5 separate regions of the Homo sapiens genome follow, and regions 1, 2, 3 and 4 are each linked to region 5. Evidence: promoter capture Hi-C in human tissues and cell types (Jung and others, 2019). All regions are on one chromosome and are shown on one strand. Each heading gives the region's core, a stretch centred on a gene start or on the middle of the fragment in contact. The rest is flanking DNA. Distances are from core to core; before and after follow the strand shown. Region 1 overlaps DLG1 (discs large MAGUK scaffold protein 1). Region 2 overlaps LOC105374308 (a long non-coding RNA gene). Region 3 has its middle 23 kb from the start of DLG1. Region 4 overlaps DLG1-AS1 (DLG1 antisense RNA 1). Region 5 holds the start of PIGZ (phosphatidylinositol glycan anchor biosynthesis class Z (Gwada blood group)).

Region 1 (2,700 bases), core at 39-2,538, 260 kb after region 5:
AGTTTTCAATTACTAATCTGTTTAAATTGGATTTTTCTCAGTACTGTATAACAAAATAGAGGGAAAAAAAGATGCTGAGATTAATGTTATCAAAATGTTTGCACTACTCAAAACTGCCTGTTTAGATTTATATAATAAACAAATGTAAATATGAATTTATTAAGTAAATATATGGTAATAAATACTACCTATATTACATATTACAGTTCCATGTTTAAAATTTCACTGTCAACTGAAATCTTATAAAAGGGTTAAAATACAAGAGCAACACCCAACCAAACTCCTTCACCTGTCACATTAACTGGAGATCAAACAATATAGTAAAAACATCCAACTATTTAGTCATGAAATTTTTTCATTATATATTAACTCATTATCAAACAAATGCTGAGTTATTGTTACTATCATAAAACAAGGGTAAGCTAACAAATTTTTTAAGTCCAAAAGAAGCTAAACTTGTAGACCAGCAGTGTTTAAATAAGCAGTGTTGTGCTTTTCTTTTTTAATTCCTAGATGATTTTGACATGTCACTGTCCCCAATCCCACTGATTTTCAAAACATCATGGTAAATCTATTGATAAATATTTGAGTTTCATACCAAAGATAGTAATAGCATCTTTATGTAAACAATTGTAATTCCTACAGAGCAGAGGACTTAGGTAAGATCACAAAGTGATGTTACATCTCAAGACCAGAAGTATACATCTTAAAGAATATTTGAATTTAATTTTCACACTTGCCAAAAAACAAGAATAAAATGATAGTAGTATCTGCTAAGAAATGACATTGCTTTCCATGATTCTTCCAACTGCTTTACATATAGTATGTTATTTAATCATCTTAATGCTAAGTAAGTTATAGCATATAACTAGTTGCTATAACACCTAAGTTTCCATGGTGACAGCTTCAACATGAAGAATTAATGAACATTCACTGATAATTTCAACATTAGAAACTATCTCCAACAGAAGCGCCTAACAGTTCTTAACAGTGAAGAAATGCAGCTAGATCACACTGCTGTAAGAGAACCATATGGGATTTAAATGATTAATGGAGTTAGAGAAACACTATTTTTCTTAAATTACGTGAAGAATTAATGCTGTGGTTTGCTTATTTGCTGTCTTTTTGAAACGGCAGGAATTAAGCAGTGACATTAGATACCTATGAATTTGCCATCAATTTGTCTGGCAAAGAATAGCCCACAATAATGTGGACATTTCTGTTATAAGTAGGCTTACAAAGTTGATTTAGCAAAAATACCATACAACTGATTACATTTTGTTGTAAGAATACTAACATACAGCCAGGTGTGGTCTTACACCTATAATCCCAACACTTTGGGAGGCCGAGCGGGCGGGTCGCTTAAGCTCAGGAATTCAAGACCAGCTTGGGCAACAGAGCGAAACCCTGTCTCTACAAAAAATACAAAAATTAGCCAGGCATGGTGGCAGGCGCCTGTAGTCCCAGCTACTCGGGGGGCTGAGGTGGGAGTTGGCTTGAGTCTGGGAGGTGAAGGTTGCAGTGAGTCAAGATTGCACCACTGTATTCCAGCCTGGGGAAGAGAACCAGACCCTGTTAAAAAAAAAAAAACAACAAAAAACAAAACAACAAAAACCAAAAAACAAAAACCACTAAAATGCTACTCTGCCAAATAAAATGTTGAATGAAAATTAAAATTAATGTCAAATCAAATGCAGTAACATTCACTCTTGATCAAACTGCACTACCTTGACTGATTTCAATTAACCACAGAATTTCAGCTGCTTTCACAGTTGAAGACAGCCAATTAGAAGAAATGAACAAATTAAACTGTGACTACATACAATTTCAATAATGGGGCAAACCTGTAAGATACAAATCATACCATGAAACCGCAATGTACATGGTCACAATGGAGAGCATAAGAATCAGAGGAACACCAACAAATTCATGCAAATAATTTGCTTTGTGTATTACTATTTATAAATCTGTTCTAAAAGGAAACCTGGTATAATCTCAATCACCTAAATTTGAGCACAAAAAACAGCTATTTGGATTGCCACTCTACTCTGAGTGGCACTGTTCTGTCATAGTAATGGGTGATAAAAATGTGAAAGAAGACCAGGCATGGTGGCTCACTCCTGTAATCCCAGCACTTTGGGAGGCTGAGGGGGGAAGACAACTGAGCACAGGAGTTCTGGCTGCAGTGAGCTATGATCACGCCACTGTACTCCAGCATGGATGACAGAGACCTTGTCTCTTAAAAAAAAAAAAAAAAAAAGGTGCAAGAAGAGCCATGCTAATGATACTGCTCATGGTAACAAAAAGAAAACTATTATTTTAGAAAAAGCTGGAACTGGGCTCAGTATTAGGTTTATAGCTCTATGCTTAAATATTTAAAACCATTTAAAAAATAAATTCATGGAGGAAACAAAACTTTGTTATCATGGGTCTGAAACTCTGACCTCTAACCTACTAGATCCAAATCTTGAACATTCATCAGAAGCAAATGAACTTGTTAGAAATGCATCCTGCAGGCACTTCATGAATATTTGTTCAACAAATGGTATTAAATTATCTGCCGTGGTTCTCATTTAAGGCTACATGATATGCAACGCACAGTTGATCCTAAAATTACCATCTATCTGGCAGAAAAAAAAAAAAAACTATGAAAAGCTTCCTTGTGCCAAATTTGAGAACTACTAAGTATCTCCACAGAAA
Region 2 (2,700 bases), core at 159-2,658, 470 kb after region 5:
ATCACTTCCCAAAAGACCCTACCTCTTAATACGATCGCGTTGGGTATTAGATCTGAACAGTTGAGTTTTGGAGGTACACATACATTCAAACCATAGCAATAACCAACCCATAGTTCAAGTGCTTATCAGAAACCTAAGTTTCCAGCCGGGCACGGTGGCTCATGCCTGTAATCCCAGCACTTTGGGAGACCAAGGCTGGTGGATCATGAGGTCAGGAGTTCAAGACCAGCCTGGCCAACATGGTGAAACCCTGTCTCTACTCAAAATACAAAAATTAGCCAGGTGTGGTGGTGCATGCCTGCAATCCCAGCTACTCAGGAGGCTGAGGCAGGAGAATGACTTGAACCTGGGAGACAGAGATTGCGGTGAGCAGAGCTTAGATTGTGCCACTGCACTTCAGCCTGGATGACAGAGCGAGACTCCATCTCAAAAAAAAAAAAAAAAAAAAATCTAAGTTTCCGCGACCCAAATTTACATTCCTAGGTCAGAACGTGTCTGACTGGACCAGCTGGAGTTACGTGCCTGCCCACGATCTAATCAGCTGTGGCAGACGGTTAAGGGAGTGAGTGCTGAGGGGACTCAGCAGGGAGACAGGGAGTTGATTCTCTGAGAAGGGGCTGTGGGCTGGGCTGGGAAGAGGGCTTGCCCGCCACTACTCCCACCTCCATTTTCACATACGGCAGCTCTGCTATGTCAAACCTCAGCTTTAGCTCCCTGCTAAGCAGAAACTCTTCCTATTATTGACTGACCCAAACAGCATGAAGAAGGTGTCTTCCTTTAGCCAACGAGCACTTCTCTCTCCACATAACTCTCTCCACGTAACTAGTCTCCTCTCTCCACATAACTAGTCTCCTCTCTCCACATAACTCTCTCCACATAACTAGTCTCCTCTCTCCACATAACTAGTCTCCTCCCTCCACATAACTAGTCTTCTCTCTCCACATAACTAGTCTCCTCCCTCCACATAACTAGTCTCCTCTCTCCACATAACTCTCTCCACTTAACTAGTCTCCTCTCTCCACATAGTCTCCTGTCTCCGCTTGGCAATGAGGGCTCTAGTCCTCTGAGAAGCCAAAACACAAGTATCTCTTTATACTAGAAGATGACTTTTACAAATCTTCCCCTAGATTTTCCCCTCAGAAGTCAGCAAATTGTCCCTCTCACAGGGAAGACAAAAGGAAGAATCACTTCAGATCCCTCCCATTTGGTATTGTACTTTTTTTTTTTTTTTAATGGAGTCTCACTCTGTCGTGCAGGCTGGAATGCAGTGGTGCGATCTCAGCTCACTGCAACCTCTGCCTCCCAGGTTCAAGCAATTCTCCTGCCTCAGCCTCCCAAGTAGCTGGGATTACAGGCACGCGCCTCCATGCCCAGCTAGGTATTGTGCACTTAAGCTACTGATATTACACGTGGTGACTGTTAACTTGTTGAGTCTCCCACCAGTAATAGCAACTTCGAGAAACAACACTTAAAGTTATTGATCTCACCATACAGAAAAAGCAAATTAAGCAGAATGTTGAACAGAATGTGAATTGGCTAATCAAAAGGATAATGAGGTTTAAGGGAATACGGTGCCTTTCATTTCTATATATTATTCCAATCTCTATTCGATGCGGCCATTTGGGGTAAAATGCTATGAAACAGCATATTTCAAACCCTGTTCTTCAGAAATACTTGAATGTCACGGACAAATCGATAGCTCTTTAAATCACAGAGCTGCGCTCATTAGTGGTCCTCCCTTGGGGAGGAGATGGCTGCATCTGCCTACTCGGCGGGAATAGGCCAGCCTCCAAACTGGCATGAGCTGACCTTTCCTTGGGCTTGTTACTCTCTTATTGGTGATTCTTTCTGTAAAGTCTCAGAAACCTTAGTTTGCAATTGCCAATATGCTTGTTGTTTTAGGGTGTCACCATTAGACTGAGTGTCTGAGCAAGGCTATTAAGCATTGTGTATTCCTGAGAGGATCCTTTCAGAGAAAACAAGAGGTTGTTTTACGGGGAAATGACCCATGGCTCAGTATTAGCTCCATTAAATGACAGACAAGAAAGGAGGTATAATGTTCCCATCAAGTAGAATGAGAAGATTGCTCCCAACTTGTGGTCCCTGTTTCCTATATCCAATGCCCTCATTTCCTTTCCTCTGATTCCTCCTTTAGTGAATTGATTGCTTCCCCCATTTTTCTTCATGGAAATTGCTCTCTATGCAAGGTTATCAGACTTATTTGCAGTTTGAGCCAAAGAAGCAACATCTTTCACTCCATCCACTTCTACTGGAAGTAGACTGGACTATCTTAATCCAATATAATAGAAGCTTAAGAGAAAACAAGCGTGGCCTGTTATTAAATTATTGCCAAATACTTTACAAACTGTAAATGTCAGAAAAAACTACACACAAAAGCTCTAAGGCATGTGGAGACAAGTAATACAATTTACTTCAATAATAAGTATAGAGTTACTTATGCTCAACTCAGAAGCCCACAAGAAGTATATTTTTTGCCGAACTTCGCTGACCAACTCCTCCAAAGGGGCCACTCAACTTCTCTCTAGCCCATCACTCTATTTTAATTTTTTGCATAGCACTTACCACTCTGATATTTTTATAGTTCATGTTTATATTTGTTTTTTACTTATTTATTGTTTATATTTTCTACTAGAATGTAGTCCTTTTCTGTCTCTCTCTCTTACCACTGTATTCTCAATG
Region 3 (2,700 bases), core at 31-2,530, 350 kb after region 5:
GAACTCTGGAGAGTCAATCAGGTTTGTGTGTGTGCCACAATTTCTTGAGGTGGAGAAGCTGAGCTTTTTTCCTAAACACCAGAATGGAAGAGGTCATAGGACAGTAAGAATGATTAATAATGCCCTTAGACTCTGGTGCTTATATGACCCCTAGCCAAGTCACTTCAATATGTCTGAGCACCAGTTTTCTTATCTGTCAATTGGTGATAGTAATGCCTGTCCCAGTTGCCAGGGAAGGATGTTGTGTAAGTTATGGAAGACAATGAAGGTGAAAAGTTTTTGTGAACTTCAAAGTGCCACACAAATGAAAGGTGCTATTTGCTGGTGCTTCTGTTCTGGCACAATCATCTGGACCTTTCTCTGGCAGAAGCCAGAGCCCCTCCTTCTTACTTGCTCTCTCTTTCTCTCTTTTTGTCTCAGGTTCCAGGGAGTTGGGCTACTTCTGAGGACATCCACTAGGCATGTTTATAGCAGCTTTTTTGGCAAGGGCCCCAAACTGTAAACAACCCAAGTGTTCATCAACAGATAAATGGATCAACAAATCATGGTACATCAATATAATGGAATACCACTCAGCAGTAAGAATGAATTAGTTACTGATACACATGACAACATGGGTGAATACAAAAATAATTATGCTAGTGAAAGAAGCTAGATCCTGCCCCCACCAAAGAACAAACTCTCATTTATATCAAATTCTAGAAACTGCAAACTAACTGATAGTGACAGAAAGCAGATCAGTGTTGCCTTGGGATGGGTTGTGGGGGGCAGGCAAGGGCAGGAAGAATAGATTACAAAGGGCCACAAGAAAACTTTTGGGGAGTAAAGAATAATGTGTTTGTTATCTTTATTGTGGTAATGGTTTCAGGGCATATACTTTTGCCAAGACTTATAATGTACAGTTTCAATATGTGCAGTTTATTGCATGTCAATTTTATTTCTATAAAGCTGTTTTTAAAAACTATCTCCTGGCACTTTGGGAGGCCAAGGCAGGAGGAAGGATCTCTTGAGCCCAGGAGTTTGAGACCAGCCTGGGCAACACAGTAAGACCTGTCTCTACAAAAAATAAAAAATTAGCCGAGTGCAGTGGCACCTTCCTGTAGTCCCAGCTACTCAGGAGGCAGAGGTGGGAGGATCACTTGAACCTGGGAGGTCGAGGCTACAGTGAGCCATGATTGAGTCACTGAACTCCAGCTTGGGCAACAGAGTGAGACCCTGTCTCAAAAATTAAAAAAAGGCCAGGCAGGGTGGGTCATGCCTGTAATCCCAGCGCTTTGGGAGGCTGAGGTAGGCAGATCACCTGAGGTCAGGAGTTTGATACTAGCCTGGACAACAGGGCGAAATCCCATCTCTAATAAAAAATGCAAAACTTATCTGGGCATAGTGGTGTGCGCCTGTAATCCCAGCTACTCGGGAGGCTGAGGCTGGAGAATGACTTGAGCCCAGGAAGCAGAGGTTGCAGTAAGCCGAGATCATGCCACTGCACTCCAGCCTGAGTGACAGAGCGAGACTCCATCTCAAAAAACAAAACAAAACAAAAACAAAAAAACCTATCTAACAGGTTGTTTCTTATCAAAATAAATGTGCACTTATTATACTGAACAATTACACCCTTGGGCATTTATCTTAGAGAAATGAACACAAACTGTACATTGGCATTGATAGCAACTTTATCTGTATTAATATAAAACTGGAAACAAAATAAATGTCCTTCAGTGGGTAAATGGTTGAACAGACTCTGGTACATCCCTACAATGGCATACTACTCAGCAATGAAAAGGAATGAACTCCTCATACATGCAACTTGAAAGGATTATAAGGGTATATTGTGTGTAGTGATAAAAGGTGATCTCAAAAAGTTATATCCTATATGATTTCATTTACATAACACCCTCAAATGGCAAAACTGTAGAGATGGAGAGCAGGTTCGTGGTTGTTAGGAAACAGGGATGGGTTAGGAAGGTATCACCCTAAAGAAAAGGGAGTTGCTTTTTGGTGATGGAATAGTTTTGTATCTTGATTGTTGTGGTGGTTACACAATCTATATGCAGGGTTAAATTGCAAGTTGCATAGAACTACACACTCACATGCGTACACACAAATGGGTTCATATAAAAATTGGTGAAAACTGAACAAGGTCTGTTGCATACTTACTAGTGTTGTACCAATGTCAGTGTCAGTTTAGATATTGTACTTCAGTCATACAAGATGTCACCCTTGGGGAAGTTGGGTTCAAGAGACTATACTCTATTTTTTTCTTTTTTTGAGACAGAGTCTCGCTCTGTTGCCCAGGCTAAGGTGCAGTGGCACAATCTCGGCTCACTGCAACCGCCATCTCCCAGGTTCAAGCGGTTCTCCTGCCTCAGCCTCCCGAGTAGCTGGGATTGCAGGCATATGCCACCATGGCCGGCTAATTTTTGTATTTGTATTAGAGAGAGGGTTTCACCATATTGACCAGGCTGGTCTCGAACTCCTGACCTCAAGTAATCCACCCGCCTCGGCCTCCCAAAGTCCTGGGATTACAGGCATGAGCCACCACACGTGTAGAGTATAGACTCTATTTTTGAAAGTTTCTGTGAGCCTATAATTATTTTAAATAATTTTTTAAGTTAACAAACTTACATTATGGGAATAAAAAGTTTTGCTGGAGACTTCAGGTTGGGCTGGTTAAGTTAACAGCTCCCTAAAGATACATTTTAT
Region 4 (2,700 bases), core at 18-2,517, 340 kb after region 5:
ATGAGTTGTCAGAAACTGTCCAAAATTCCAAAGAGCTGCCTCAAGGTAGTGGAAATTTTTTTTTTTTTTTAATCAGGAAGGTGCTGAATGAAGCCAGCAAGGATTCTGTGTCAGAGGGTGGTAGATACCCAGGACATAAGGTTGAACCACGTGACCTCTGAGACCACAGTTCTAAGCTGTTGAAACCTCAGTCCCTGCTGAATACTGAAATGGTATTAGCACCCTTTAGTCTACATCAAGAATTCGTTCTACCCAGTTTTGGTGGTACCAAGACTGATCTCTTTCTCATAGATAATTCTTAACAGAATAAAAGCTACAGGTTGAAACCAATTCCCTTTAAAATGTGGACAGTTGACCATCTCCATGATAGGTAGTTAGGCACTGAATTAATGCTTTTTAATGGAAGAGCCACCCTAAGATTCCTGGAGTGTGGTATAATGGAGTACTAAATCAGCATAGGACTAATAACTGCCTCCCGTGTAAACTGGTCTATCCGGAGAGTGGTATAGCCTCTCATACAGTGTTCAAAGGCAGATTTAACTCACTGCAGGTCCACAGCAACCGATAAGATAAACTCGTTGGTTATGGTCTCCCACTTTGCAAAGGAGAGCACAGAGGAAGAGGAAACTGAGATAACTTGGTTTAGGACCCCACAGCTGGCTGGAGCTGGGCTGAACATTAGTTCATTGTTTCTTCGATTAATCTATGCTGCTTTTTCTCTACTTGGCTCCTTTTCTAAATTAAACAAAACAAAACAAAAAACACTGGGCACAGAGTGGTGTATATGTGTGTGAGAGAGAGACAGAGATAGAGAAAGACTAAGCGAAAGAGAAAAGAGAGAGGCTGAGTGAGATTCAGATAAAATAAGGCACAAGTCATGGGCTAGTCTGTTGTACAGTGTACTTGTCATATATTTGAATGCCTTTAACAATGGAGACAGTTTTGATGGAAATAGGGCCTTGAAGAAATGCATATCCGCACCCTGGTGGTATGTTATAACTAAACGGGTTGGTTTTTTGTTTCGGAGTTTTTTGGGTTTCTTTTTAATGCAAAGGTATATATTTAAAATACCCTGTAGCTTCCTTCTCTCCTTCATTTCATTTCCTTAAGTATGAGAGAGGTTTTCTGGATGACGGGACATCCAAACTGGAAGTGCCCTCAGATCCCATCAACTCCCATCCCCATGTTTGAGAAGCACGTAAAGTAAGCTCCAGAAGAGCTCCCAGACAACGTCGGCACACAATTATCAGAGGACTTTTCCCTGATGGCAGAAAGCTACTGACATTTCCAGAACCATCCATCTTTCTTTTAGAGAGAAGGGGCTGGGGGTAAGGAGAAATTAGTAATCTTTTCTAGAGATACGTTTCTAAGTTTAACCAAATTTGCTTTTCTGCTTTTGAAGAACTTGTGGTATTGACAGAACCGTAGGATCCCATATGGAAATCCTCAGGATTATACTAAAATCTCCTTACATGAAACAACCTCTTCACCCCACCCCCTGCCAAGAGAATGACCATTGTCTGTTCACAGAAGGCTTTGGCCAGGGCCCTTCAGTCAGATTATCCTTATGTAGGTAGAGAAGATAAACTTGGAAACTTAATTGGAATTTGAAGAAATGCTATTAGAATTTTAGGAAGTCATTTGTATTCCATTTCTGAGATATGACCTGAATAGAATTCTGGTAAGTGGAGAAGCCAGAAGATTCTTCATAATTATATGTGGACTGTGTCCAGTGACCAATCTCATTTAGGATGGAAAACTGCCACAACCTTCCAAAACAAAGACCTGTGTGCCAGTCTTTCATTTTTGGGAAGTGACACTCACTAGGGCTGTCATTTTCCTATTCCTCATGTTGTATAACCCTAAATTCCTTTATTATTTTCTTCTATTTTACACTCACAAGAACGGTAACGATAATGAATCATTTAAATCTTGCTTTCTATTTAAATTTTCTTTAGATTAAATTAATTTCTTCCCAAGACAATTTTATCAACTGAGATTAAATATTTGTGATTAAAGCATCTTCTGCCTTTTATAAATAAATTGGGCGGCAGTTGAAGAAACTTTTCCAAATATGCTTTTTAAAAATCCTGCAAAATTTTCCCAAGTTGGATATCATTTCAACTTGCAAATTACCACATGAATAAACAAAGCCAAGCTCGAAGGGAGTAGGAGACAATGAGTCAAAAATTTAAAAGGGATGGGCCTTTACCAATTACTAATGAAGATGAACAAAGCAATTTAAGAATAAGAGAGAAGTAAATATTTAATAAGAAATGCTACCATAATAATTTGGAGAAGCTTGGGTTCAAAAGAGCAGAATAAAGCTGTATCTCTATTCTTTTTTTCTCTTGGAAAAAGACTCCAAAAATATTAGAACAAAGAGAAACTTGTTCCTCCATCCTTAATAAAAAGAAGAGTGGCTAGGCGCGGTGGCTCACACCTGTAATCCCAACACTTTGGGAGCCCAAGGCAGGTGGATTGCTTGAGGTCAGGAGTTTGAGACCAGCCTTACCAACATGGTGAAACCCATCTCTATTAAAACTACAAAAATTAGCCAGGCATGGTGGTGCCCGTCTGTAATCCCAGCTACTCAGGAGGCTGAGGCAGGAGAATCGCATGAACCCGGGAGGCGGAGGTTGCAGTCAGCTGAGATTGTGCCACTGCACTCCAGCCTGGGTGACAGAGCAAGACTCCATC
Region 5 (2,700 bases), core at 65-2,564:
CACCAAAGGCTGCTTCTCCCGCCCTCAGGACTAAGATCTTGTTCCAGTCCTCCAGTCCTCGGGGTCTACTCCAGGGGTACAAGGTGAGAGTGGCTCTCCAGAGTCCATTTGCCTTTTGGTGCCGCACTGCATCCTCACTTTGACCCTGAGCGCTGCAGTAAGCCCTGCAGGGTGCTCCACCTTGAAGCACGGGAAGATCTGATGCTGGCCGCCTTCTTCCTTCGGTTGCCTGAAAGGGCCCGTGTTTATCCTTCGCTTCACAGAGAACGCAACACACAACATTAAACACACATAGAGAGTGAAAGAGAACAAGGCATCTTCATCAAGGAGGGCGCACCATTTAACCACCCGCGACCTTGCAGTGCGCCTCTGCAAAGTGGGGACTCCGCTCTGTAGCAGGAGATGGGGGTGTTGACGATTTTGAAAGTAGTTCTCAGTTTTCCGAGGCAAAGGTGTCTGGGGCTGACGAATGACTTTTGAGAAGAAGGAATGATGAGAAATGTCCTCATTACAGAACTTTCCCGGCCACACTGTGAGTCCCACGCAAAGACCCCATGACCACCAACCGGAGCGCTGGGTGCTCCCTGGCAGGGTCACCTTTGCTTTTTGCGCGCCCCCATGCCACCCCTGGGGCAGGAGGCCATCCTCTTATCCTGGGAGTGCAGGCCTGGCCCGAAGTGCAGCCCCCGAGGCCGGGAGCCGAGATTCTTCTCGGCTTCGTGCTCAGAGCTTTGCAGCGTGGCATGGTTTCCTCCTCTTGCCCTGTTGCTGTTTCATACCAGGGGGAACTGAGACCCAGTCGGGTTATGGGCCTCCCTGAGAACACTGGCCTCTAGCAGAAGCAGATTCAACCCCAGGCCTCAACCTGCGCCCAGACCCGTGCCCTGGAGTGGAGTTTACCCACTGCCGCCCTTCCTGGGCAAATGTCACCGCTGCCTCCGTCCCCCTAGGTCCGGGGCGGGTCAGTGCTTCGAGCCAGCGGACCCCGGCCTAGGGACAGGTGCCTGCGAGAATGCGGGGGGCGGCCCCCAGCTCCCCTGCCCTCCTCCCTAGAGGCTGGGCCTGCTGGTCTCCCGGCTGCGCGCAAGGTGGGAACGCGGCCGACTTGGTCCGCTCGCCCTCCCCGCACCCGCTCCTCTGGAGCCGCTGGGGCTGCGCACCGACTCACCCGCGCGGCCTCCGGGCTGCGCCTTCAGCGCTGGCGGCGTCCTGCCCGGCGAGGGCCAGGGTCCCAGGAGGCCCCGGAGGCGGCGGGACCGCAGGGCGGAGGGGAGGCCGTGGGAGCGGCCGGGCGCGCCTCAGCAGCGCGGAGACTGGGGCCGCCGCCGCCGGCGCAGGGCGGGCCGGGAGGGAGGAGGAGCGCGCGGGCGGGGCCGCCGTGTACGTCCCCGCGCTCCCGCCCGGCCTGGCCCCGCGGTCCCGGAGCGAGCTGGGGCCGCGCTGGGGAGGGTCCTGGGGGCGCCGCCGTCCCTCGGGCCGGGCAACGCCGGGCGGGGACCGGTCTCGCCCCGCCGCGCTCGGGCTCCCTCCCCGGCGGCCCCTCCTCGGCGAACAGCCTTTCGGCGCGGGGGGCTGTTAAACCAGACACCCCAGGCCACACTCCTCTCGTTCGAAATGACCATTTCGGGGTTCTCCGTGGCGGGGAGCTCCGCCGCCGCCGTCCCCCTTCCACGCGCGGGAGGTCGGCGAGGGCAGGGCGGGGACCCGGAGTGCGGCCCCCGGTCCTGCTTCGTGGCCCGAAACGCCTCGCAATGGAGTCACTCATGACAGGGGACTCAGCGCACGGGGCGGCTGCTGAGCCCCGCAGCGATCGGCGGGCGTGAGGGGTTCCCCGGCGTGGTTGCCCGGGAGCCTGTCAGCCCCAGCAGCCCTGACAGGAAAGGGAAGTCGAGAGGAGGCTGAGCGAACGGCCGCCACCCCCGCGGGACGCTGACCCGGGCGGACCCCGAGGGGCCTCTCCCCGCGCCAGAGCGCGGCGTGCGCGGGGAAGCGCGACCCACCGGGGTCGGCGACGGCGCGCGGGGCGGGCGCGGCGGTTCCCTCTCCTCCGCCCGTGCCCGTGGGATCGGCGGGCTTGTCGGGCTGGGAGAGCCTCGTGGAACCCGGGCATCCGGGCAGCAGCGGCCTCCGAGCCACTGTGGAGGCGCCCGGGGTCGGCACGGCGAGGCCGACGGGGACCTGACACGGTCACGCGGCGCCGGGGAGCAGGTTCGAGTGGCCGGGCGTGGCCGTGCTGCCCCTCCGCGTTCCGCAGGCGGCGACGGGCGAGCGGCCCTAGCGGGCTGCAGGGAGGACGCCGCGTGGACGGAGAGCCGGCGCCCGGGGGCCAGATCCCCTCCCGGGACGGGGCGCCAGGTCCCCGCGAGCTGCGGCGCGACGCGCGGGCACCCGTGTCCCACCCGGTGGCCTCGCCGCTGCGGGCTGCGCTGAGAGCGGGGTGGCGCGACGCGGTCCCTCACCGCAGGGGGAAGACGGCACCACCGCGTCCCGGCCGCTGGAGCTTCCCGCCCGCGCCGCCGGCCCGACGCTGCCCCCTGGCGGGAGAGCGCTGCAGGGGCCCCGGCGAGGCCGCAGGACCCGACCTCCCCGCCGGCCTCGCACTCCCGCGCCGCCGCCGAGGGTCGGCAGCCGGATCGCCCTCCGTGCCCCATAGCACCCCTCACACTAAAAACGACGACTTTATTAAGATGTGAGGTATTC

The links. Contacts are between HindIII fragments. The study calls those that stand out against the background at their distance.
Region 1: a fragment that was not itself captured here is called in contact with the fragment with the promoter of PIGZ in region 5 in 2 of the 25 tissues and cell types used here (dorsolateral prefrontal cortex and mesendoderm cells).
Region 2: a contact is called between a fragment that was not itself captured here and the fragment with the promoter of PIGZ in region 5, in 3 of the 25 tissues and cell types used here (IMR-90 fibroblasts, dorsolateral prefrontal cortex and mesendoderm cells).
Region 3: a fragment that was not itself captured here is called in contact with the fragment with the promoter of PIGZ in region 5 in 1 of the 25 tissues and cell types used here (aorta).
Region 4: a contact is called between a fragment that was not itself captured here and the fragment with the promoter of PIGZ in region 5, in 1 of the 25 tissues and cell types used here (dorsolateral prefrontal cortex).

What each region holds. Positions count from the first base shown.
Region 1 is chr3:197,230,121-197,232,820 of GRCh38, forward strand. The region is part of intron 4 of DLG1 (discs large MAGUK scaffold protein 1); the gene reads right to left. Among named protein-coding and RNA genes, the nearest start is that of MIR4797, 62 kb to the right of the region's middle. The HindIII fragment of the contact is 3,796 bases long and covers 1-2,700 here.
Region 2 is chr3:197,433,259-197,435,958 of GRCh38, forward strand. The region is part of intron 3 of LOC105374308 (a long non-coding RNA gene); the gene reads right to left. Among named protein-coding and RNA genes, the nearest start is that of LINC02012, 75 kb to the right of the region's middle. The HindIII fragment of the contact is 5,890 bases long and covers 1-2,700 here.
Region 3 is chr3:197,320,598-197,323,297 of GRCh38, forward strand. No RefSeq gene overlaps it. Among named protein-coding and RNA genes, the nearest start is that of DLG1, 23 kb to the left of the region's middle. The HindIII fragment of the contact is 6,318 bases long and covers 1-2,700 here.
Region 4 is chr3:197,302,993-197,305,692 of GRCh38, forward strand. DLG1-AS1 (DLG1 antisense RNA 1) reads left to right here. Exons shown (of 3, transcript NR_038289.1): 3 at 1-759. Among named protein-coding and RNA genes, the nearest start is that of DLG1, 5.7 kb to the left of the region's middle. The HindIII fragment of the contact is 5,403 bases long and covers 1-2,700 here.
Region 5 is chr3:196,967,519-196,970,218 of GRCh38, forward strand. PIGZ (phosphatidylinositol glycan anchor biosynthesis class Z (Gwada blood group)) reads right to left here and starts at 1,315. Exons shown (of 3, transcript NM_025163.4): 1 at 1,169-1,315. LOC124906255 (collagen alpha-1(I) chain-like) reads left to right here and starts at 1,615. Exons shown (of 3, transcript XM_047449439.1): 1 at 1,615-1,731; 2 at 1,878-2,694. The coding sequence starts at 1,615. The coding sequence ends at 2,693. RefSeq lists enhancers at 892-1,427, 1,428-1,963, 1,964-2,499 and silencers at 1,035-1,484, 1,545-1,754, 1,765-1,824, 1,935-1,994, 2,105-2,424 and 1 more. The HindIII fragment of the contact is 30,202 bases long and covers 1-2,700 here.